5 separate regions of the Homo sapiens genome follow, and regions 1, 2, 4 and 5 are each linked to region 3. The links are contacts of gene promoters, found by promoter capture Hi-C in human tissues and cell types (Jung and others, 2019). All regions are on one chromosome and are shown on one strand. Each heading gives the region's core, a stretch centred on a gene start or on the middle of the fragment in contact. The rest is flanking DNA. Distances are from core to core; before and after follow the strand shown. Region 1 overlaps FAM193A (family with sequence similarity 193 member A). Region 2 overlaps FAM193A (family with sequence similarity 193 member A). Region 3 holds the start of NOP14 (NOP14 nucleolar protein). Region 4 holds the start of FAM193A (family with sequence similarity 193 member A). Region 5 overlaps RNF4 (ring finger protein 4).

The links. Contacts are between HindIII fragments. The study calls those that stand out against the background at their distance.
Region 1: a fragment that was not itself captured here is called in contact with the fragment with the promoter of NOP14 in region 3 in 1 of the 25 tissues and cell types used here (hippocampus).
Region 2: a fragment that was not itself captured here is called in contact with the fragment with the promoter of NOP14 in region 3 in 2 of the 25 tissues and cell types used here (lymphoblastoid cells and spleen).
Region 4: a fragment that was not itself captured here is called in contact with the fragment with the promoter of NOP14 in region 3 in 1 of the 25 tissues and cell types used here (heart left ventricle).
Region 5: a contact is called between a fragment that was not itself captured here and the fragment with the promoter of NOP14 in region 3, in 1 of the 25 tissues and cell types used here (lymphoblastoid cells).

The regions. Positions count from the first base shown.
Region 1 is chr4:2,556,301-2,561,191 of GRCh38, reverse strand. The region is part of intron 1 of FAM193A (family with sequence similarity 193 member A); the gene reads right to left. Among named protein-coding and RNA genes, the nearest start is that of FAM193A, 22 kb to the right of the region's middle. RefSeq lists enhancers at 642-1,180, 4,276-4,891. The HindIII fragment of the contact is 4,035 bases long and covers 1-3,856 here.
Region 2 is chr4:2,658,241-2,663,123 of GRCh38, reverse strand. FAM193A (family with sequence similarity 193 member A) reads right to left here. Exons shown (of 21, transcript NM_001366318.2): 9 at 3,454-3,566; 10 at 3,070-3,312; 11 at 133-286; 12 at 1-15. Among named protein-coding and RNA genes, the nearest start is that of TNIP2, 96 kb to the left of the region's middle. RefSeq lists enhancers at 3,603-4,102, 4,103-4,604. The HindIII fragment of the contact is 4,879 bases long and covers 669-4,883 here.
Region 3 is chr4:2,961,746-2,966,594 of GRCh38, reverse strand. It overlaps NOP14 (NOP14 nucleolar protein), which reads left to right and starts at 3,189. Exons shown (of 18, transcript NM_001291978.2): 1 at 3,189-3,470. The coding sequence starts at 3,276. GRK4 (G protein-coupled receptor kinase 4) reads right to left here and starts at 3,024. Exons shown (of 16, transcript NM_182982.3): 1 at 2,473-3,024. The coding sequence starts at 2,524. RefSeq lists silencers at 2,352-2,401, 2,572-3,001 and enhancers at 2,464-2,997, 2,998-3,531, 4,562-4,631. The HindIII fragment of the contact is 12,457 bases long and covers 1-4,849 here.
Region 4 is chr4:2,535,790-2,540,428 of GRCh38, reverse strand. It overlaps FAM193A (family with sequence similarity 193 member A), which reads right to left and starts at 3,782. Exons shown (of 21, transcript NM_001366318.2): 1 at 3,259-3,782. The coding sequence starts at 3,513. RefSeq lists silencers at 2,779-2,828, 2,573-2,867, 2,869-3,028, 3,079-3,368, 3,449-3,548 and 2 more. The HindIII fragment of the contact is 7,680 bases long and covers 1-4,639 here.
Region 5 is chr4:2,515,526-2,519,807 of GRCh38, reverse strand. It overlaps RNF4 (ring finger protein 4), which reads right to left. Exons shown (of 8, transcript NM_002938.5): 8 at 3,951-4,282. Among named protein-coding and RNA genes, the nearest start is that of FAM193A, 19 kb to the left of the region's middle. The HindIII fragment of the contact is 8,421 bases long and covers 1-4,282 here.

The DNA.
Region 1 (4,891 bases), core at 590-3,089, 400 kb after region 3:
AAAAAGAAATCTCTACCAGCATATATGCCTAACATATTAAGTGTGAACTTGAGAGGAAGAACTCAACATAGAATAACCTACAGCAAGGTGTTGTAAGGACATAAAAGTTCACCAAAGCCTGGAGAGTAAGCAAAGCAAGAGTCAGGAGGAGAACTACAATGGCATGGTGCCATGCACAGGAAGGCAAAGAAAGTTCTAGAAAGGTGGATATCACAGTCATGTGCCAAAAGCTCAAAGGGAGCCAGGTGCAGCAGCTCATGCCTGTAATCCCAGTACTTTGGGAGGCTGAGGCAGGTGAGGTGAATCACTTGAGCCCAGGAGTTCGAGACCAGCCTGAGAAACATGGTGAGCTCCTGCCTCCACAAAAACTAAAAATAAAAACACTGAGGAAGAGGAAGGGAAGAAAGACACAATCTGAATACAAAGGAAAATAACCCAACAGAAGTGGAAAGATTCAAGACACAGGAGAGAAACGACAAAGCTGTTTTGCAGAAGCCTCAAGATAACGTACTACACATAAATTCTGCACTGAGTTTCCATGAATTAACAGACTCATTAAAAACCATCAGTTAACAACCCCTGGAGCACGCAGTTAACTTTGGAAAAATGGATAGATGCTTTCTTCCAAATCAAAAGACAAAAGACGTCCCAAAGAAAGGTGAAGAGGGAAGAAATGCAGAAGCTCACATCAAATGGCCTGGCTCCCTGAGCAATGTTTCTGCCTATGTACTATGTGCCAAGCAGGCCACAGCGCAGTTTAGATGTTCCAATCCAGTCTAAGTGGTGTGGCCGAGCCAGGACAGGCACCACAGGAACTCAGAAGGGAAGGTACAGCCTGGCCTCGGACGGTGAAGAAATGCTTCCCATGGGGACAGCGCATGGTCTCCATCTCAGAAAGGGGCGAATCAGGCAAAGACAGAAGAACTCACTGGAAAGAAAAGCCTGCACAGGCCAGGCGCGGTGGCTCACACCTGTAATCCCAACACTTTGGGAGGCCGAGGCGGGTGGATCACCTGAGGTCGGGAGTTTGAGACCAGCCTGGCCAGCATGGCGAAACCCCATCTCTACTAAACATACAAAAGATTAGCTGGGTGTGGTGGCAGGCACCTGTAATCCCAGCTACTCGGCAGGCTTGAACCAGGGAGACAGAGCTTGCAGTGAGCCAAGATCGCACCACTGCACTCCAGCCTGGGCAACAAGAGTGAAACTCCATCTCAAAAAAAAAAGGAAAAAAGAAAAGAAAAGAAAAGCGTGCACAAAGGCGCAGAGGCAAGAAAAACCCGGCCCGATCAGGCCACGCAGGCCGCACTACACAAGCAGGTCAGGATCACCGCAGCACCCAACAGGCACCGCAACAGCAGTGGAACAGCAAGGCAAAAGGAAGCGAACGGCAAGGACGCTCAGCTGTCCGTGCAGCCGGAGTCTGGCAGGAACAAGAGAGGGGCCGTCAAAGAAAGCTCAAGACGTCCTGGTGCTCACGTACAAAGGCAGGTGGAAGACATCCAGAGGGAGGAGGAAGCAGCAGAGTGTGTTCACAGAGAAGAGAAAATGCAGTAGACTACGGCGAGAGTAAGGAAGACCAGACTAGCAGGACAGGGCTGGGCAAAGTGGCTCACGCCTGTAATCCCAGCACTTTGGGAGACCAAGGTGGGAGGATTGCTTGAGCCCAGGAAGTCAAGTTGACAATGAGCTATAATTGTGCCACTACACTCCAGACTGGGTGACAGAGCAAGACCCTGTCTCTGAAATAAATAAAAATTTAAAAAGAATAGCAAGGTGGTTTCTTTATCTCAGTTGGTACTGAGAAGTGACAAAAGCCACAGAAATTGAAAGGTATGTGAGGGGACACCGACTACAACAATTAGAGGAATTTTTCAAACTCAAGTCTTCGGGCCTCAGTTTCCTCAGCTAACAAATACTGTCTTGGCAATAAACAGGGGCTCTGTCGTTGTCCCCTCCAGTTCTGAAGTTCTATGCATCTATGATTTGACCATCTTAGCATTCCCAGTGGAATACAGGTGTGGACATCTGTAAATGTACAAACACACAAAGAACAGTTCAATTCAGTTTGTGCAGCGGTATTTAATTGAAATCATTGATCCAAACCCTCCCATTATTCTTTTAAAGGAAGGAAAAATATTAACAATAGCTATAGCCGTCTTCCTATGCTGTTCTTGTTTCTGTTTTTGTTTGAGATGGAGTCTCACTGTGTCACCCAGGCTGGAGTGCAGTGGCACGATCACAGTTCATGCAACTTCCACCCTCTGGGTTCAAGCAATTCTCCTGCCTTAGCCTCCTGAGTAGCTGGAATTACAGGTACATGCCACCATGAACAGCTAACTTTTGTATTTTTAGTAGAGACGGGGTTTCACCATGTTGGCCAGGCTGGTCTCGAACCTCTGCCCTCAAGTGATCTGTCCACCTCGGCCTCACGAAGTGCTGGGATTACAGGCGTGAGCCACTGCACCCAGCCTGATTTTGTGTGCTTTTAAAGACAGAAACAGCTAGGTACAGTGGCTCCCGCCTGTGATCCCAGTCATCCCAAATACCCAGGAGGCTAAGGCAGGAGGATTGCTTGAGGCCAACAGTTTGAGACCAGTCTAGGCAACATACAAGATCTCATCCCCCCCAGAAAAATTTTGATTAGCTGGGTGTGGTGGCCCGTGCCTGTAGTCCCAGGTACTTGAAAGCCTGACGTGGGAGGATCTCTTGAGCCTAGGAGTTGGAGGCTGCAGTGAGCTATGACGGCGGAATTGCACTCCAGCCTGGGCAATAGGGACTGTACTCTAACTAGTAACTCGTAGACAATGTTTGCCTTGGTGGGCTACTTTCACCTAAGTGAAATAATTACCAAGTATTTTTAGGAAAAGTAATTAGATTGTAGTACACTATTTTTTTCTTTCCTTTTTTTTTTTTTTCATTTGAGATGCAGTCTCGCTCTGTCAAACACGATGAAATACAGTAGCACGATCTAGGCTCACTGCAACCTCCTCCCCGGTTCAAGCGATTCTCCTGCTTCAGCCTTCCCAGTAGCTAAGATTACAGGCATGCGCCACCACACTCAGCTAACTTTCATATTTTAGTAGAGACGGGGTTTCACCGTGTTGGCCAGACTGGTCTTGAACTCCTGGCCTCAACTGATCCACCCACCTCGGCCTCCCAAAGTGCTGGGATTACAGGCATGAGCCATAGCGCCCAGCCTTGTAGTACACTATTAAATGGTTAACTTTTTTTTTTTTTGAGACGGAGTCTCACTCTGTCACCCAGGCTGGAGTGCAGTGGCACGTTCTTGGCTCACTGCAACTTCTGCCTCCTGGGTTCAAGCGATTCTTCTGCCTCAGCCTCCCGAGTAGCTGGGACTACAGGCGTGCACCACCACACCTGGCTAATTTTTTGTATTTTTAGTAGAGACAGTGTTTCACCATGTTAGCCAGGATGGTCTTGATCTCCTGACCTCATGATCCGTCCATCCCAGCCTCCCAAAGTGCTGAGATTACAGGCGTGAGCCACCGTGCCCAGCCAAAAGTTAACCATTTTACTGAATTTTAGCATGAGCATGAAATTACTACCATACTATAAATCTGAATATTAATTAGCTTCTCAGGAATCCTTTGAAGAAAATAAAAAGCTTCACCATTTCATAGGTGAGAAAACTAAAAAGAATGAAAATTCTGGGCTGCTAAATGCACTGTGGTGTACTGGATTAGATCCTGGAACAGAAACAGGACATTTTAAAAATCCAAATAATCTGTAGTTAATAATGTTGTACCAATGCTAATTTCTTAGTTTTGACAAATATACCAAGGTTCGCTAGAATATCCATATTAGGGAGAGCTGGCTGAAGAGAATGCACAAACTCCAGGCTCAATAGTATGCCCTCATCGCCCTCATCCACAGCTGCACTTCTCAGTGGTTTGAGTTACCTGTGATCAACTGTGGTTCAAAAACAGGTGAGCACAGTATAATAAGATATTCTGAGAGAGAGATACCACATTCACATAACTTTTATTACAATGTATTGTGATAATTGTCCTATTACTGTTATTGTTGTTAATCTCTCACTGTGCCTAATTTACAAATTAAGCTTTACCTATGGTAAAGGTACTATATATAGGAAAAACATAGTATATTTTAGGGTTGAGTATTATCTGCAATTTCAGGCATCCAGTAGGGGTCTTGGGATGGATCCCCTGCAGGTAATGGGGGACCAGTGTACTATCTTGGTGACTTTTCTGTAAATCTAAAATTATTCTAAAATAAAAAGTTTATTTTTAAAAATCCTGTGCCATAAGAATTAGATTCTACAACCTCTCATTCAGTTTCAAGCTCTATCTAACATGGTGCTCAAAATATTCAAGAGAACAATGTTCTTTACTTGACATCACCCTCTATTAACTTACGTAAGGGAAAAAGTCAATTTCCTCAAGAAAACAACAAGCAGTAATTCTGTCCCACAAACATTATTGGAATTACTCCAAGGTAGTTTAGAAATTAAAACATTTCCTTTTTTGAGACAGGGTCTTGTTCTGTCACTCAGGCGGGAGTGCTGTGGCATGATCACAGCTCACTGCAGTCTCGACCTCCCGGGCTCAAGTGATCCCCCCACATCAGCCTCCTGAGTAGCTAGAACTGTGGGTGCACACTACCACACCTGACTCCCTTCTTTTATTTTGTAAAGACAGTATCTCAGCCGGGCGTGGTGGCTCACGCCTGTAATCCCAGCACTTTGGGAGGCCAAGGCAGGCAGATCATGAGGTCAGGAGATCAAGACCATCCTGGCCAACATGGTGAAACCCCATCTCTACTAAAATACAAAAAATTAGCCAGGTTTGGTGGTGCGTACCTGTAGTCCCAGCTACTCGGAAGGCTGAGGCAGGGGAATTGCTTGAAC
Region 2 (4,883 bases), core at 1,859-4,358, 300 kb after region 3:
GCTTATCTGAGGAGACTTTAAAGACAATCTTTTGTAATTTGCACTTTTCAAAACAGAGTAATATAAAATATTAAAATGTCAGACCATCATTTTATGTCATTTATTGTTGCTACGAAGAAGCCATGTCCATACCTCATCCTTCAGGGCCATGTTTTCCCCGCCACCATTCAATTCGCTGTGGATTCCATTCATGTTGGCCACCACCTCGGTATCATCATAATTACTCAATGGATAAATATCAGCAAATTTGGCTGACAATGGTGCAACATCTTCATCATCACTACAACTGACACAAGCAGAGATGGTCACTGTGAGGTCATTCAATTGTGAAAGACAATGAGTAAACCAGCCACTAAGCACAGATATTTCCTGGACAGATCACGGCTTTCATTTACAAAGAGTATTAGTTAAGTATCATTCCTACCACTAACATTTCTTAGTAACCTCAACATGAGAAAAATGCTTGGAAGATTAACATTTGTGCCATTTGGAAGAGTAAAAAACAAAAAACAAACAGAAAAACCTCCAAAAGTAGAAATATTAAGGAAACTACAAAAATTTAACCAGACTGATTAACGTTTCCATTTGACCTGAAGAGCGCTGGTATAAAACTAGTCTCTCTGCTACTCCCAAGACAACACAATTTGTGATTAAAATTAAAGGGGTACCGATGGCAACCTTAGGTGTTTAGTGTTTGCTTTTTAAACCTTAGCTGTTTAGTGTTTGCTTTTTCAACTTAGGGCTGAAATTTTCAGAAATAGTCAGTTGAACAAAACTTTAAAGGCACTTATGTAACAGAAGACTAATTTTTTTTGCTTTAAGGCCAGTCATGGCCTGGTCACTCATGATCGTAATTAAATATCAGCTTTAGCAAGACATCTAAGCAACAGGCAAATGAAAAATTTACTGAAATTAATTTTATTTTATTTTATTATTTTTTTGAGGCAGTGTCTTGCTCTGTCTCCCAGGCTGGAGTACAGTGGCACAATCTCGGCTCACTGCAAGCTCCACCCCCCAGGTTCACGCCATTCCCCTGCCTCAGCCTCCCGAGTAGCTGGGACTACAAGCACCCGCCACCACGCCCGGCTGATTTTTTGTATTTTTAGTAGAGATGGGGTTTCACTGTGTTAGCCAGGATAGTCTCAATCCCCTGACCTCGTGATCCGCCCGCCTCGGCCTCCCAAAGTGCTGGGATTACAGGCATCAGCCACTGCACCCGGCCTGAAATTAATTTTAAACAGATTTCAAGGCTTTAGCCTACAGAGACCACTTAAGATGCAGCTCTGGTGCATTAAAAGAGCTGGCACATTTAAGCTCAGTGCAATAAGATGCTCCAAGGTCCACAAAAACATGCACTGAGTCCATCTTCAGCCTGGGCACACAGCAACCTCCAGAAGGCAAAACCCTAGGAACTCGTCGTGATCTCACTTCCTAGAATGAGTGAAGAGTGTCCAGGACTACCAAATTCCGGTGTCTTTTCAACACATTACAAGTAACGTGCTAGAGTCTGGAGCTCACCAGAGGTAAGTACAAACAGCACCCACAAGGTGCAGAGTCCTAGGGCTTCCTGCAGGCCCACTGCACCTGGGACGCTGCCTGGGCCAATGCTCATACACACTCCTGAGGATGACCATAGGCACAATTTACAGATGAGAAAACTGAGGTTCTAGTGAAGTAACTCAGCCATTTGCTCCATGTGACAGCAGGAGGCTTCACCAGCCCTAGCTCCGTAAAGATCCAACCCATAAGATCCAGGAAGTACTGTGTGGTACACTGACTACAATCACATTGTTCTTTTTAACCAACTTAGAAAAGGCACCAAGAAAGAGACAATACAAATGAAAAGATAACACTGGAGATTTTCAAATCATAGTTTACATTTGGAAGACATTGATCACAAGCTGCTGAAGGCCCAGATGTCCCGAGAACCTAGGCTCCCCGTAACTGGTGATGGGCAGTTCCGGCCCAAGGAGAAAGGCTCCCACAGCCAATTTCTTCCACTACCACACGTGACACAAGAGACCATAACTGACATCAGCAGCTGTGACAAATGAACAGGGATGAAATTTTCCATCTTAAATTTTCATTAGGCTATATATGTTTAATTTTTATGTTTCAGTAAGAAGTTGGATAACAGCCAGCTGCAAAAATGTCAACACTCTTTCTTGTGCCCTGGAGAGTACACAGTGTCTCTAAGGCAATAAACAGCAGCCTGCAATCTTTGTATGAAGAGAGTCAGTGAGTTTAAACCAGTCCTTTCAGAATTATTTTGTCTGAGAACAAGCCCAAATTGAAAATGGAAAGACTGAAGGAAAACGTCAGTCACCATGAGAAATCCAGACAGAAGGAATGAACACAAGTCAGTTGGTCAGAGAAATCCCAGAAACGCTGCATAGCCAAGGTCAGGAACAACAATCTCTCCCACTGCACACTTCCACATGGAACATGATGCCTGTGTGCTCTACGATACACGTAAACTAAACCTAAGCTGACTTTGGCAACTACATATGATCAAGTGCAACCCTTTTGGAAATTAGCATGTGAAGCCTCCCCAAATGACAGGGTCACAACTCTGAAGAAATCTGGGAACAGCCAACTACAATGTGAATTGGTGACAGCTGCACAACAATGTACTTCTAATCATGCGGGAACATGAAAAACAGAAACCTTCAACTGCTTGCTAAAGCGATCACCTGAGTTCTTAGCAAGACATGAAACAAGCATGAGTGCTGGGCTGACAGGGAGACAGGACAGACGGCGGACTGGTCACCCTTTAGGAGAATGAGGAGATGTGAGGCCGGAATTAGAGACACTTCTTCTCTGCATACCAACATGTTTTTTCTTTACTGGCCTTTATTAATTTACCATGTTTTTTTTTTCCCAGATAAACAGTGTTAAAAGTTTGGGTTTACTGATTTCATGTTTTAAAAGCTGCATTAAAAACCTCAGGGTCCCTTGTCATGAAAAGCACAATAATGATGTTCATACTTCTGTGGACATTACTGTATGTATTTCTCATTACTGGGGCGACTTAAATTTCGGAAACTTTATTACAAAGTCACAACTTACAAAGTTGGTGCCGAGCCACTGTCTGTGAGGATGAGCCTGGGGTGCTGCTGAATTGTGATGGGAGAGCTGGAGCCGGACCCCGAGCTTGCAGATGACACACTGGGCGGGCTCCTCTCAGCAAGATAGTCAGGAGCAGGATCCACTTGAAGTGGGAGCTGGTGAATGTGGATGTCATCAGTGACGGGGGGGTCCATGATACCACACGTGAGGATGTGTGAGAGACTGCAGTCATCGCAAGCACATCTGATCAGGAATTAAGGACAGTTACCAAGCCAACCAATGCACAAGACTAGACCATGCTCTCTAAGGGTCGGTTCTAGGCCTCCACTCAGCCCAGTGAAGGTCCAATGGGCCAGTCGTGCTGACACCACAACCCAGCCTTACCTTCTCCTGTAGTTGCAGTTGGGGCAGTCGGGCATGCTCAGCCGGGACGATAACATGTGCCTCATGGTGTCTGTGAAGTTGTTCTCGCCAGTAACTGCTTTCTTATTGGTTAACTAGAGGAAATTTTAAAATGCTTTAATCTTGCAAGACCCTTCCCCGAGACATGGCTCATTATTTTTCAGTAATTCTGCTGACATGTATCATGTTCACGGGCACTGCTTCCTCAGCGGGACAGGACCAGGAATACAGGGGCAGCAGACCTGGAGTCGGCAGCAAGCTGGGGGCTGAGCTGCAAAGGGCTCGGGTACCAGGAGACCCTAATCGCTTTTGTCTTCAGCAAACATGCTGCAGTGCGCCCTCACAGCACACACCTGATGCAGAAACCCGGCCTTTACCCTGTCTGCCATGTGCTTGGTACTTGCAAGGTACTGAGAACAGAGCTGTAGGAATGAAAAGTGGCACGTGGAGGGCAAGGGGTCGGCCTCGGAGCTATTGAGGAAATGGCACCTCAACTTCTAACAGACAAGGTGAGCATCTGCATTTCAAAGGAGAAGGAACTCTGGACCCACTCTGGCAATGGGACAGGTGGCAGCTGGAAGGGCCACTCAAAAGGACGGGATGGCCGGGAAAGGTGGCTCACGCCTGTAATCCCAGCACCTTGGGAGGCAGAGGCAGGCGGATCACCTGAGGTCAGGAGTTTGAGACCAGCCTGGCCAACATGGTGAAACCCCATCTCTACTAAAAATACAAAAATTAGCCAGGCGTGGTGGCTGGCACCTGTAATCCCAGCTACTCAGGAGGCTGAGACACGAGTACCGCTTGAACCCGGGAGGCAGAGGTTGCAGTGAGCCGAGTTCACGCCACTGCACTTCAGCCTGGACGACAGAGTGAGACTTTGTCTCAAAACAACAACAACAACAAAAGCACAGGGACACATGCAGAATGGGGAAAGGGAAGAGGTAAGCATGCCACAACACTGGTGCCATCTGTATACCTGTGGTGCCCAGAGGAGACCACGGGCATGCAAATGTGGAGACAGGCATGGGGTCAAGGCCAGGGAACCACCAATATTTGCAGAAAGACCAATGAAGTTGGAGTTCGTAAAGGAGATGGAGAGAAGTGTCAGAGAACAGGAAGAGAGTCGATGTGGCACGTGGATGGGAGATCAGGGGAAGCCAAGTTTCCAGATGAAGCCAAGGGCCCCCAGACCAGATACAGGACATCACTAGCAAGCTCTGCCCAACAGCTCCAGCAAAGGTGGAGCACAAGCCTGCCTGGAGGAGGCACCGCCAGGAAGATGAGGAAGGGAGAGTCCAGATCTGCCAGCTGCCATGTTGAAGGCATGGCACCTGGCAATGTCTGGAGATCTGAGCGCTCTGTCTGGGGATGCTGGGCCCCCATTCCAGCTCTGGGACATCAGGCAACATCCT
Region 3 (4,849 bases), core at 1,940-4,439:
ATGTATATCTAATATTATATATTCAACTTCTCTAACCATTAATCAAGCTATACATAATGATGCTTTCTGACCACAGGAGCAAATACTCTCACTCAATGGGGACAGGCCTCATAATCACACTACTGTGGAGTTAATATGAGATATTTCAGGGAAAAAATTAAAACTTTCTTTTTTTTTTTTTTCGAGACGGAGTCTCGCTCTGTCACCCAGGCTGGAGTGCCGTGGCGCGATCTCGGCTCACTGCAAGCTCTGCCTCCAGGGTTCACGCCATTCTCCTGCCTCAGCCTCCCATGTAGCTGGGACTACAGGCGCCCGCCACCACGCCCGGCTAATTTTTGTATTTTTAGTAGAGACGGGGTTTCACCATGTTAGCCAGGATGGTCTCAATCTCCTGACCTTGTGATCCGCCCGCCTCGGCCTCCAAAAGTGCTGGGATTACAGCTGTGAGCCACCGTGCCCGGCCAAAACTTTCATTTTTCAAACTATCACTGTGGTCTTAGGTTTTGTGACAGAATCTGGTTTTATGTTATTTAGCATTTATAGAGCACTTGTATTTATCTCATTATCTAATCTCTGCAGCATTATAAGGAAGGCGGCTTGGTATAGTTCCTTTTTGTAAATTACATGCAGATAGGAAGGTAGTGTAAAAAGAAAACTGGCTTAGCTTCAATCTGACTTCCACTAAGGATGATTATTTTCCATGACCTATTTGGAGTTCACAGTCAGGGATAAGAGGCACAGTCAAATGCTCCACTGAAAATGGCTGCTGAGAACGCATACTGCTCTGGGACTCCCTGATTATCTTAAGGGAAAAAGATCCCATTCTCTTCCCACCCATTCTCAGTTCTTCTATTCAAAATAGTGTGAGTTGGTGCACAAAAATACTGAGAAGATGAAGTCTTTGTTTTAGACTTTTTTAAAGAGATGGTCTTGCTGTGTTTTGCCCAGGCTGGACTCTCCTGGGCCCAAGTGAGCCTTCCACCTCAGCTTCCAGAGTAGCTGGGACTACAAGCGTGGCCGCCACCTTCGGCTCCAGACTGTCCTTTAAATATGCATCGCCGGCTGCTGTGGCATCTTCAGTCGGCATTTACACTGTCCTGGAGCACAGTCCGAGCAGAGCTGCTCCATCACGCAAGGAAATAGAGGAAATCAGCAATTCCGTAAGAGTGACGGGGTGTGAAGAACTACCGTGGCTAGCACAGGGACTTGAGGTCCGAGGCTCTGTCGCCAGCTCTCTTGAGACGCAGGCAAGGGAGACATGAGGTCCGAGACAGAGGATTGCACAGAGGATTGTGGGGGTCTCCCGCTGAAGGGCTGGACCAACTGATGCTTTTGTGGCGGGATGCAGAGGACTAGAGAGACCAGCATGGGTGAAAACAGGAGGATATTTATGTTAAGGTACGCACCAGCTCAGTGGATTCACATCCAAAAAGCTGAGCCTTGAACAAAGACTAAGCAGGATTTTTATAAGCAAACTTACAGAAGCAAAACAAAGGCAGTTAATCATATAATGACAGGTCACATAATCTATAGCATAACTGATGACTTGGCATAACTTGTGGCCTTGCATAGCTGGTGGCCTTGTAGCTGCGTTGAAAGAAAAAACCAAGAACTGGCTAAACACAGATATTTGTCCTCTTTTTTTTTTTTCTTCACCCCTGCTCTGGAAGGGGGGTGTCTGGAGCCTATTCCTTTGGATTCGACTTCTCAAACAGAACAGCGTTATCTTATAACTGTCCTTAAAGTGAGCTTGCTAAGCAAAAGAAAACTTGTTCTTCTTTTCTTTTTAACCCTTGCCTTGCCACATTCTGGGCCTTGGCTTTTTCTTTTCTTGGAGTGAATGAATGCAGTACTTATTACTATTTTTAAATTTCTGCCTCACTTTAATAATGATAAAAGGCTGAATTTTTGCCAACTTGTCCATCTGTGACCACGTCGTGCTAAAGCACACTTGACACACCATAGAGCCTCAGATCAAACCTCAAAACCAAGCAGCTATGTTAAAAATAACATTGCCCTACAATCATTATCGGAAGGTTCTCGCCCAGAGTAGTTCCCAGGCTGCTATTCTTTGTCCCCCTTAAGACCATAAAGACGCCGTTCTTTTTTGGTGGGACAGGTTGTCCAACACAAGCAGGACACTGCCTGCCGCATCCTGAAGCAACACTGTCACCGAGGTCACACCGAGAGGACAGGACAAGGACACAGGGCAAGACTAAGAAGAGCAAAGCGCAGACTTCTCTCATCTGGGCCAGGAGATGGGGACTGGGACCTGGCCCGGGCAGCCTGACCACACTGCACAGACCCCGGCTCCGGCTCCGTGCAGATCTGGGTTCCCCCAGTGGGAGGTGTCGGGGCTCTCCAGGGAAATCGGGGTTCTCCGGGGATGTCGGGTTCCTTCAGGGGGGCCAGGGTTCCCCGGGATTCGGGGTTCTCTGGGGGGGGGGTCGGGGGCGCCTGCCGCGCACCCACCTTGACGCGCTTTCAGCAGCAGCGAGTTGGCCACGATGTTCTCGAGCTCCATGTCCTGGCGCCGCCGCCGCCGGCGGATTCTGCGAGACCGAGGAGACTGAGGAGGCGGAACAGGAGGAGACGCCGCCGCCCCCGTGCATAGCTCGCCGGGCACCACCCTCTCCTCGAGCTCCGGACACGATCCCGGGAGGCTGCTCCGCCGCCACCACTGCCACCAAGGGCGCCGCCGCCGCCGCCTCCGCAGGCCCTCACCAGCAGGGGAGCGGTCGGGGCGAGGGGAGGGGGCAGCCCGACCGCGGCGGGTCCCAGCTGTCACCGCTGCCGCGCTATCGCCCCGGTTCTTCTTGGCCCCATCGCCCTCGCCTCGCGCGCGCAACTCCCTCCTCAGTGCCCTGCCCCCGGGCAGCCCCGAGTCAATGCCGTGGCTCACTTCGGACAGGGGCTCACTGGCAGGGGCGCCCGCCGCGGCCGGCGACCCGCTCCCGGGCGGGCTCGGCGCTAACGGCTTAGCTGAAGAGGGAGCGCCCCTCGCCGCCGCGGCCGGGGCACTACAGCTCCCAGAAGGCCCTGCGCCAAGAGTACACGGCGGGCCGCGGCGCGTGGCCTGCTGGGAGTTGTAGTCGCTGAGCCTATCGGCGAGTAAGCCGAGCCTGCGGGCGCGGTGTTTACTTCTCGCGAGTCGGAGGTGCTGCGCTGTTCTCGCGAGACGAGGAAGCGGTTCCGCGGCCCGGCACGTGTCTTAGGGTAGCGCGCGCCTGTCTCTCTTCGGGTCTCGGGCCCTTGGGCGCAGCGGGGCGCGCGCCATGGCGAAGGCGAAGAAGGTCGGGGCGCGAAGGAAGGCCTCCGGGGCGCCGGCGGGAGCGCGAGGGGGCCCGGCGAAGGCCAACTCCAATCCGTTCGAGGTGAAAGTTAACAGGCAGAAGTTCCAGATCCTGGGCCGGAAGACGCGCCACGACGTGGGACTGCCCGGGGTGTCTCGCGCACGGGCCCTCAGGAAGGTAAGCGGGGGGCGCACGGGGAGCCGGAAGGCAGGATCTGGACCCCACGCTGCTCTCGGCCGGCTGCGTCCTTCTCGGTGCGTCGGTTTCCTCGTTGAGCGGCACAGGCCGTGACAGGCACACGGCACTGACTTGATAGTCCGAAAGCCTCTGCTGTTCTCTGAGCTGGAGTGACCTGGAAACTCTCGCCGTCTTGGAGACCCTGCACTCGTGTTATTTCGGCGACTCCTCCAACCGGGTCAGGCCGAGTCAGTCACTTCGGGCGGCGCCCTGGACCAAGCTGCTTGTTAACCCTTCCGCGTTTACTTTGAGCTCTGCAGGTTTGGGGACGGTGGATAGGGGCTGTGTAGGATGCTGCGTTTGATGTTTCATCGGCTCTCTCCCGAAGCGCGTAACCTTGTTCCTTGGGAAGTAACTCTATGGAAACTCATTGCTTCCTAGTTTTTTTAACTTTTTTTTTTTTAAATTTTCACTGAGGAACATACATTAGCAGGTTGGTGAAAAAATTAAGGCACAGAAAGGACAAGTGCATTTCCTAAGGTCACGCACCTGGTAAGGGCTGGGCATGCATTCACATTTCAATATCTACAAAGCCTTCTTGCTACCCCGAGCGCTTCTGTTTGACCTCGCTTCTAGGTTCGGGGAGATAAAGGTAAATAAGACTTGCCCTTGCCTTCATGAGCTCCTGATCTCTGTTCATCACAGTGTGCAAGCTGGATGGTCTTTGAATCAAAACACATATTATCCTTACTGCGCGAAGACGACAGCCTGTATAATGAATAGGCAAGATAGACTTACAGCTGACTTCGATAGGAGTCCCTCATTACACACCCCCGGGCCGGGGTGGGAGAATAAGGTAGTGTGGTTCCCTAGAAGAGACACATTTGTCTTCACCACTGAAGCCTCAGTTTTCTCATTTCAAAAGTAGAGATGATAGTATACATCCTACCCCTCGTGGTGGTTTGTGAGAATTAAGTAAGATAGCACATAGAGCACACAGCAAGTGTTCTCTAAATACTGTTATTCTTAACCTTCTTGGCTTGTCGTTCGAGTCCCGCACAGTCTGGCTGTTGTCCTTGCTTCGCCTCTTGCAACTCAGTTTGTCCAAAAGGTCTGCCTTACCTCCGAAAGTCTCTAAAGGGCCAGCTCAGGTTCACCACCCAAGCTATGTAACCCAAATAGGACAGGTTGCTCAAACTTCTGGTATTGAGCAGATCCACCTCCCTGCCCTGTGCTGAAGGCCTGGGACGGGGACGGGAATTGCTGCTCCTTTTTGGATCTCCAATGCTTGGCCCTTGGAAGAAACACAAATATTTGAAGAAATCAAAGATGGAACCTGAGTGCCTTAGGAGATCCCGGTCAGGAAAAAGTGTAATAGT
Region 4 (4,639 bases), core at 891-3,390, 430 kb after region 3:
TGGCGCCATCTCGGCTCACTGCAAGCTCCGCCTCCCAGGTTCACACTATTCTCCTGCCTCAGCCTCCGGAGTAGCTGGGACTACAGGTGCCCGCCACCACGCCCGGCTAATTTTTTGTATTTTTACTAGAGACGGGTTTCACTGTGTTAGCCAGGATGGTCTCGATCTCCTGACCTCGTGATCCGCCTGCCTCGGCCTCCCACAGTGCTGGGATTACAGGCGTGAGCCACTGCGCCCGGCCATTTTTTGTATTTTTAGCAGAGATGAGGTCTCACCGTGTCAACAAGGATGGGATTTTTTTTTTTTTTTTGAGACAGAGTTTCACTCTTGTTGCCCAGGCAGTAGTGCAATGGTTAGATCTCAGCTCACTGCAACCTACATCTCCCAGGTTCAAGCAATTCTCCTGCCTCAGTCTCCCGAGTAGCTGGGATTACAAGTGCATACCACCACACCTGGCTAATTTTTGTATTTTTAGTAGAGACGGGGTTTCACCATCTCTGGGGTTTCATCATCTGTCAACCAGGCTGGTTTCGAACTCCTGACCTCAGGTGATCCACCCACCTCGGCCTCCCGAAGTGCTGGAATTACAGGCATGAGCCACGGTGCCCGGCCCTAAAATGTTTTGTGAAATTTTTGTGTTTATGTGTATGTTTCCTAGATCTTAACGGATTTTATTTCTTGGAGTGGGTCATAAGAGTGGGTCATGGTCAAAAACCTTGATAGGCCAGGTGCAGTGGCTCAGGCCTGTAATCCCAGCACTTTGGGAGGCAGAGATGGGAGGATCACTTGAGGTCAAGAGTTCAAGACAAGCCTGGGTAACATAGTGAGACCCTGTATCTATATTAAAAGAACAAATTAGCCAGGCATGGTGGCACATACCTAGAGGCCTAGCTACATGGAAGGACTGCTTAGCCCAGAAATTGGAGGTTACAGTGAGCTATGACCAGGCAACTGTACTCTAGCCTATGCAACAGAGAGAGACCGTGTCTCTTTTAAAACAACAAAACCCTGATGCATACTAGTTTAACAGAATATCACAGTCCTGTCAAAAATAATACTCAGGTGGGCACAGTGGCAAGGGTCTGTGCCCTTAGTAATTAGTAAAACTAAGATGAGAGGGATCCCTTGAGCCCACAAGCTCAAGGCCAGCCTAGGCAACATAGCAAGACCCTATCTTAATAATAATAGGCATACAGTTATCTGATTTTGAATAACGCGACAAAAATAATAAAGGCAGGGCTGGGCACGGTGGCTCACGCCTGTAATTCCAGGACTTTGAGAGGCCAAAGCAGGTGGATCAGGAGGTCAGGACTTCAAGACCAGCCTGCCCAACATAGTGAATCCCTGTCTCTACTAAAAATACAAAAAAAATTAGCCAGGCATGGTGGCAGGTACCTGTAGTCCCAGCTACTTGAGAGGGTTAGGCAGGAGAATCGCTTGAACCCGGGAGACAGAGGTTACGGTGCGCCAAGATCGCACCACTGCACTCCAGCCTGGGCGACAGAGTGAGACTCTGTCTCAAAAAAAAATAAATAAAAATAATAAAGTTATATTTTACCTAAGTATTGCAAAGCAAATGTAAATTATTAAAACTTGAAATGGTATGAAAGGCTAAAACTAAGAATTTTATTGTGCCACCAACTGGTTTTTATTGAATCAATAGAAATGAATATATTCCACATCCAGCTACACCAAAAATTATCAATATTTTGTGTAAGGATATGCACAGGCAAACCCCCCCCGCCCTCCCCTACCCGACAGCAGCAAACACTGCCCTTAAAAACCCCAAAGATCCAAACGCTCAAGACTCATCCTTGATCCCAAGAACTGCGGCCTGTTTTGATCTCCAGGATACTGGATGAGGGCAATCTCGGGAGACTGAAGTCCAGGACTACAGCCCAAGACCCTAATGTAACAATATAATAATAATAAAAACGGCCGGGCGCGGTGGCTCACACCTGTAATCCCAGCACTTTGGGACGCCAAGGTGGGCGGATCACCTGAGATCACGAGTTCGAGACCAGCCTGGCCAACATGGTGAAACCCTGTCTCTACAAAAATTAGCCGGGCATGGTGGCGCATGCCTGTAGTCCCAGCTACTCGAGAGGCTGAGGCAGGAGAATCGCTTGAACCCGGGAGGCGGAGGTTACAGTGAGCCAAGATCGCGCCATTATTGCACTCCAGCCTGGGCGACAGAGCGAGACTCCGTTCTCAAAAGAAAAAAAAAAAAAGAACAATTTGTGTCATGATTTAGCACAAAAATACTCCCAACGCTTCTTTCATTTTTTAATTGCAATATCTTTAAAACTACATAATTTAAGAGTTTAAATAACATTATAAGAACGCAACTTTTCAAAAAAAATCTATTCTCTTTCAGCAGACAATGGGATAACTGGAAATGACTGCGCCAATTGCATACCCACTTATAAATAGTGTACCCTCTGAAATGTTGTGACCAACGGTTGAATAAAAGTGGCAGGAATCCATAATTGGTAGGTGCAATGTGTGCTAGCTGTCTTCATAAACAAAACTGAAAAAAATCACCTTTCAAATTCCTTAAGTTCGAACCCTAAATACATACCTGAGTAACCAAACCACTAAATACCCCTGAAAACTTAACAAAGCGGGGGAGGAGGGGCCAGGGCTGCCAGCTCCAGGTGGCTGTCAGGTAGATTTCAAATAACCACATAGGAGGACCAAAGGAAAACTTCCGGGAGGCCCTTCTCAATCATCACGCGCACGGAATAACGAAGGTGGCCAGAGAAACATTTCAAAGCCCTGGGAGCGAAAGGGCAGCTTTGCTCACTCCCGGAATCGCAGTCGCTCTGGAACCGCCGCAGCGGGCGAGGCGCCACGACAGAAGCCCGGGCCTCGCGGGTATCACCCGCCGGGTCCAGCGGAAGGCGAAGCGCCGTGCGCGGAGCTGCACCCCGGAGACGTCCCCGCCCGTTGAGGGGCTGCTCCAGCCTGCGGACCAGCCCGTCGCCGTGAGCGGCGGCCCCGGTGTAGCCCTCCCGCCGCCTCTGCTCAGGTTCTCCTCTCAAGAGGCTGACAGAGGCCGCGTCACGCCGAGCACGGCCCACCTGCCGCCCTGCCCCGGGACCTCGGCAAGCGCAGCGCCGCAGGACCCGTTATCCGCCCGCCCGCAGCATCCCGCTCCCAGGCCCGGGGCCGACAGCGGGAGGCCGAGCTCCGCCAAGGCGCGAGGGAACGGCAACCGCGTACCGCCATCGACCCCTGCCCGCTGCCGCCGCTTACCTCGAAGTAGCCTCCGGGGGCGGCGCCGCCCGCGCTCGCGCCCGCGCCGAGAGGCCCGTTGGCCGCCGCCGCGCCGCCCACCAGGCCTGCCGCGCTGCCCGGGGCCGCCAGGCCCGCGGCCTGGGAACCGCGCAGCGCCGCCGCCGGGCCGGCCTTGCCGCTGCTCGCGCCGCCGTTACCCCCGCCCGAGCCGCCGCCGCCGCCCCGCTTGTTCTTCCGGCGCTTGGCCCCGCGCTTGGCGTCGGCTGGGCTCATGGCGGGCGGGGAGAGGGGCGCAGAGCGGGCGCGGGGGCCGCGGGCGGCGGCGGAGGGCGGGGAAGGCGGGGAGGCTGAGGCGGCCGCGGCGGCGGGCGCTCCGGCCAGCCGGGGGGCGCTGCGCGGGGTCGCGTCCGGGTCGGGGAGGGCTGGGGCGGGCGGGAGCTGCGGGGCAGGCCGCTGGGCGGGAGGAACCGCGAGTCCACAGTCCCGGCGCCGCGGCTGACCAGAGTTAGAGTCCAATATGGCGGACACAAGGGGAAAGGGATCCCAGTTTACGTCGGGGGAGGGGGAAGGAGCAGCGGGGAGGGGGAGGGGTGTGGGCCCCCACCCCCCACCCCCACCCCGCCTTACTCCGCCCCCCGGCTCTGCTTTTCCCTTTGCTTGCCCACCCCCTCCTGCCGTTAACGTGCCTCGGCGCGCAGGACACGCCGGGAACTGAAGTCCGTGCTGCCCGTGCAGCAGCTGGGGGTACCCGGGGGTGGACCACGATTCCCGTCAGGCCTTGCGAGGCCGAGGGCCCGGGCGCTGGGAGGAGCTGGGGCCAGGGAGCTGGATGCGGCGGTGATGTCACCGCCTCGCTCGTCGCCGCAGGTCCCGCCCGCGCCGCGCGGCCTTCTGGGCGTTGTGGTCGGGCGTAGGGCTAGGCCGGCAGGAGGCCGCGCCGCCGCCCGCGAGGCAAACTACACGGCTGGCGGCAGGGAGTTCCGCCTCTCTGACCGGTGTCCGCTGCCCGCCCGCCCCGCCCGCCTCGCCCGCGCCCCTGTCCGCCGCCCAGGTGCCGCAGACCGGCGCGGCTCCCGGGATGCACCAGGGGCGGCGCGGCGCGGCCCTGGCCTCGCCAGGAACGCCCGGTGACCTTGGGCTAGTCTAGTTCTGGTCCAGATGACTCAGTGAGGACCACAGAATCCCTGCCTCGTGGGCTGGGCGGGGGTTCGGGCAGCGCTGGAAAGCCGGGCGCGGTGCGGTGGGGTCCGCCTGGGTGCGGAGGCAGCGGCGGAGCCGGCGAATCTTGGACCGGGCCTGGGGCTGGGACACGCCGGTCGGTTCCCCGAGAACCCCTCGCCTAAAGGGTGCTCTTCCCGAGCCCGCCCTCTCCCTGCTATCCCGTTAAGCCCTCTCCAGT
Region 5 (4,282 bases), core at 1,783-4,282, 450 kb after region 3:
CCGTCTCTACTAAAAATACAAAAAATTAGCCAGGTGTGGTGGCGGGCGCCTGTAGTCCCAGCTATTTGGGAGGCTGAGGCAGGAGAATGGCGTGAACCTGGGAGGTGGAGCTTGCAGTAAGCCAAGATCGCCCACTGCACTCCAGCCTGGGCAACAGAGCGAGACTCCATCTCAAAAAAAAAAAAATAATAATAATAATAATAATAGAGACAGGGTCTCACTATGTGGCTCAGGCTGGTCTTGAACTCCTGAGCTCAAGCCATCCTCCCACATCTGCCTCTCAAAGTGTTGGGACTACAGGTGTGAGCCCCTGCACTCAGCCTCCATTTTTTCTCTTTTTTTGTTTAGATGGAGTCTCTGTTGCCCAGGCTGGAGTGCAATGGCATGATTTCGGCTCACTGCAACCTCTGCCTCCTAGATTCAAGCGATTCTCCTGCCTCAACCTCCTGAGTAGCTGGGATTACAGGCATGTGCCGCCACGCCTGGCTAATTTTGTATTTTTAGTAGAGATGGGGTTTCTCCATGTTGGTCAGGCTGGTCTCGAACTCCTGACCTCAGGTGATCTGCCTGCCTTGGCCTCCCAAAGTGCTGGGAATACAGGCATGAGCCACCACGCCCTGCCTTTTCTGTACCTTTTCTATGTTTAGATACACAAATACTTACCATCGTGTTACAACTGCCTTCAGTATTCAGTACAGTAACATGTACAGGTTTGTAGCCCAGAGCAGTAGGCTATATCACATAGCCTAGATGTGTAGTAGGCTCTGCAATCTAGGTTTAATTACACATTACACTGTACAATGTTCATACAACAGCAGAATTGCCTAACAATACATTTCTTTTTGTCTTTTTTTTTTTTTTTTTGAGATGGAGTCTCACTCTATCACTCAGGCTGGAGTGCAGTGGCGCAATATTGCCTCACTGCAACCTCTGCTGCCCAGGTTCAACAGATTCTCCTGCCTCAGCCTCCCAAGTAGCTGGGATTACAGGCGCCTGCCACCGTACCCAGCTACTTTTGTATTTTTAGTAGAGACGGGTTTCACCATCTTGGCCAGGCTGGTCTTGAACTCCTGACCTCGTGATCCACCCACCTCGGCCTCCCCAAGTGCTGGGATTACAGGCGTGAGCCACAGAGCCCAGCTTAACAACACATTTCTCAGAACATATCCCTGTAAGGTGGGGCGCAGTGGCTCACGCTTGTAATCCCAGCACTTTGGCAGGCTGAGGTGGGTGGATCACTTGCAGTCAGGAGTTCGAGACCAGCCTGGCCAACATGGTGAAACTCTGTCTCTACTAGAAACAGAAAAAATTAGCTGGGCATGGTGGTGCACACCTGTAATCCTAGCTATACTCTGGAGGCTGAGGCAGGAGAATCGCTTGTATGTGGGAGGTGAAGGCTGCAGTGAGCTGAGATCATGCCACTGCATTCCAGCCTGGGTGACAGAGTGAAAATCTGTCTCTGGAAAAAAAAAAAAAAAAAAAAAAAAAAAAAAAAAAAAAGAACATATCCCTGTAGTTAAACAACATATAACTATGTTACCCAATACATTAACTGATTAGAGAGGCAAACAAATCTTGTCTCAATAGAAGCAGAAAAAGGACTGGTAAGATTGAACATTCACTTGTGACCAAAAACAAAAATAGAGAAACCCTGTCTCTACTAAAAATACAAAAACTAGCCAGGCGTGCTGGTGCATGCCTAGCTACTCAGGAGGCTGAGGCAGGAGAATCGCTTGAACCCCGAGGTGGAGGTTGCAGTAAGCCGAGATTGTGCCACTGCACTCCAGCCTTGGCAACAGAGCAAGAATCTGTCTCGTTAAAAAAAAACAAAAACAAAAAACAGAAATTGAAGACAAATGCCACTAGGTGTCATGGCTCATGCCTGTAATCCCAGCACTTTTGAGGAGGCCGAGGCAGGCGGATCACCTGAGGTCAGGAGTTTGAGGGCAGCCTGGCCAACATGGTAAAATCCCGTTTCTACTAAAAATACAAAAATTAGCCGGGCATGGTGGTGCATGCCTGTAATCCCAGCTACTCGGGAGGCTGAGGCTGGAGAATTGCTTGAACCCAGGAGGCGGAGACTGCAGTGAGCAGAGATTGCACCACTGCACTCCAGCCTGGGCGATGAGTGAAACTCCGTCTCAAAAAAAAAAAAAAAAAGATAAATGCTTATCTCATGGTAGGAAAATGAACCTCCCTCATCTGACAGTTATCTAACTAGAACCTACAGCAAACATCTTTCTTGATGAAACACTAAAACACAAACACCATTTGTGTGTAATAATAATGTACTGGGCTAGGCTGGGCGCGGTGGCGCACACTTTTAATTCCAGCACCTTTGGGAGGCTGAGGTAGGAGTATCGCCTGAGGCGAGGAGTTAAAGACCAGGATGGGCAACGTGATGAGACCCCCGTCTCTACAAAAATAGAAAAAAAGAAAAAAGAAAAAAAAAATAGAGTTGGGGCTGGGAGTGGTGACTCACGCCTGTAATCCCAACACTTTGGGAGGCCGAGGCGGGCGGATCACTTGAGATCAGGAGTTTGAGACCAGCCTGGCCAACATGGTGAAAGCCCGTATCTACGAAAACTACAAAAATTAGCTGGACATGGTGGCACGTCCCTGTAATCCCAGCTGGTTGGGTGGCTGAGGCAGGAGAATCGCTTGAACCTGGGAGGCGGAGGTTGCAGTGAGCTGAGATCGAGCCACTGCACTCCAGCCTGGGCGACAGAGCCAGACTCCGTCTTAGGAAAAAAAAAAAAATAGCAAGGATTCTGGATACACAATATAGAGAATCAATTGTTTCTATGCTGCCAAAACAAAACAAAACCACCCCCCCACCGAAAAAGTTAATACAGACATCTTTTGAGTTTCTATAGCCAGCCTTGGGGGCTCCCTCCTTTCCAGGACCAGACCCACTCCAGCAGTACCAGTCTTAGGGATACACTGCTCCCTGCCTCCCCTAGGCTTGCTCCTGGGGTAAAGAACTGCCAGGCCCTGGGTAGCCACCAGAAGTGTCTGGTCCAATGCCTTTAGGTATCGGGGAGCCTGCAGACCCTACTGTATGCCAGCAAGAAGCTCTTTCTCATAACTTTCACAGGCCTGGCCTGGGGTCTCTGGAATTCTTTCCTCTTTCCCTAGAGAGCTTTCTGGACCTTGAAGATGGCAACTTAGCAGCCCTTATTCAGAGAGAGCTTTCTGGACAGCTTCAACTTCTTCCTGCTGGATCTCCTGGTTTCCCGTACCCCACCCTCATCAGTTTCAATTTTCCAGTGGCCTGGGGGACTGTCTCCTCTGTAAACATGTTCCATGATGTCTGTCTCACTGCCCACAGAGCCAAAAGTGCAGTGCCAGGAGCATGGTAAGCAAACTGCACTGGATGGTAGGCCTTTGGGACCCAGGCAGCCAGCATGTTAGCCTTTCTAGTCCCTGGGGACAGCTGGATAGGTACAGAGGGCAGAGGCAAAGGGAGAGCTTGGCCACACTGCCAAGCCCATTCCCTCCTTGTGGCTTTGCTGGCACTGCTCGCCTGTGGCAGTGGCTGGCATATCCATGCACTCCCAGTGCTGACTCCCACTCAGAGGGCAAATTTTGTATCTAGGTGGTCAGGGGCAAAGGGGGGTGCTGCAGTGCAAGGTTTCCAGGGCAATCTCAGTCCATCCCACTCAGAGCAGCACCCCCAGCACCTCTGAGAGACTGGCCGAGCTGAGCAGACAGCTCCTTGGTCAACCTTGCCTCTCAGAGTAGACTCTGCTCTCTTAGGGACTCCAGGGCTTGGGCTTGTGGCTGTGCTCCAAGAACAGCCTCTCACATGCTTGCTGGATTTAGGACATGGAAACTTCCTGAACACACACCAATGCAAAATACACTCAACGTGAGGCAGATAAGAACCCCGCACCTTGGCAAAAAGGGGGGAAATTGATTCCAAAGAGCAAATGAATGTGTAAAAGATATTTGGTTCAAATTAATGGTTTTATTTCCATCTGTAACACTAGCAGAGGAGTCCAAAGCAGACTGATATCCATGGATATAGTTTAAATGTAACAAAGAAAGAGTTGAACTATGTACATTGAAAAAAGGAAAGACATTTCTTCATACCAACCTTTCCCTAGTTCGCAGTTTCTGAATAGTAGAAACAAAACACATTTTTAAATCTTTCTATCAATTTAATTTAGGACGAAGTAACACAACTTTTATAATTAACCACTGAAGTTGTCTTTAAGGACAAAACTTAAATTTTAAAATGGGTGTTACCATATTTTATGAGTGGACTGACTCCAAGGTT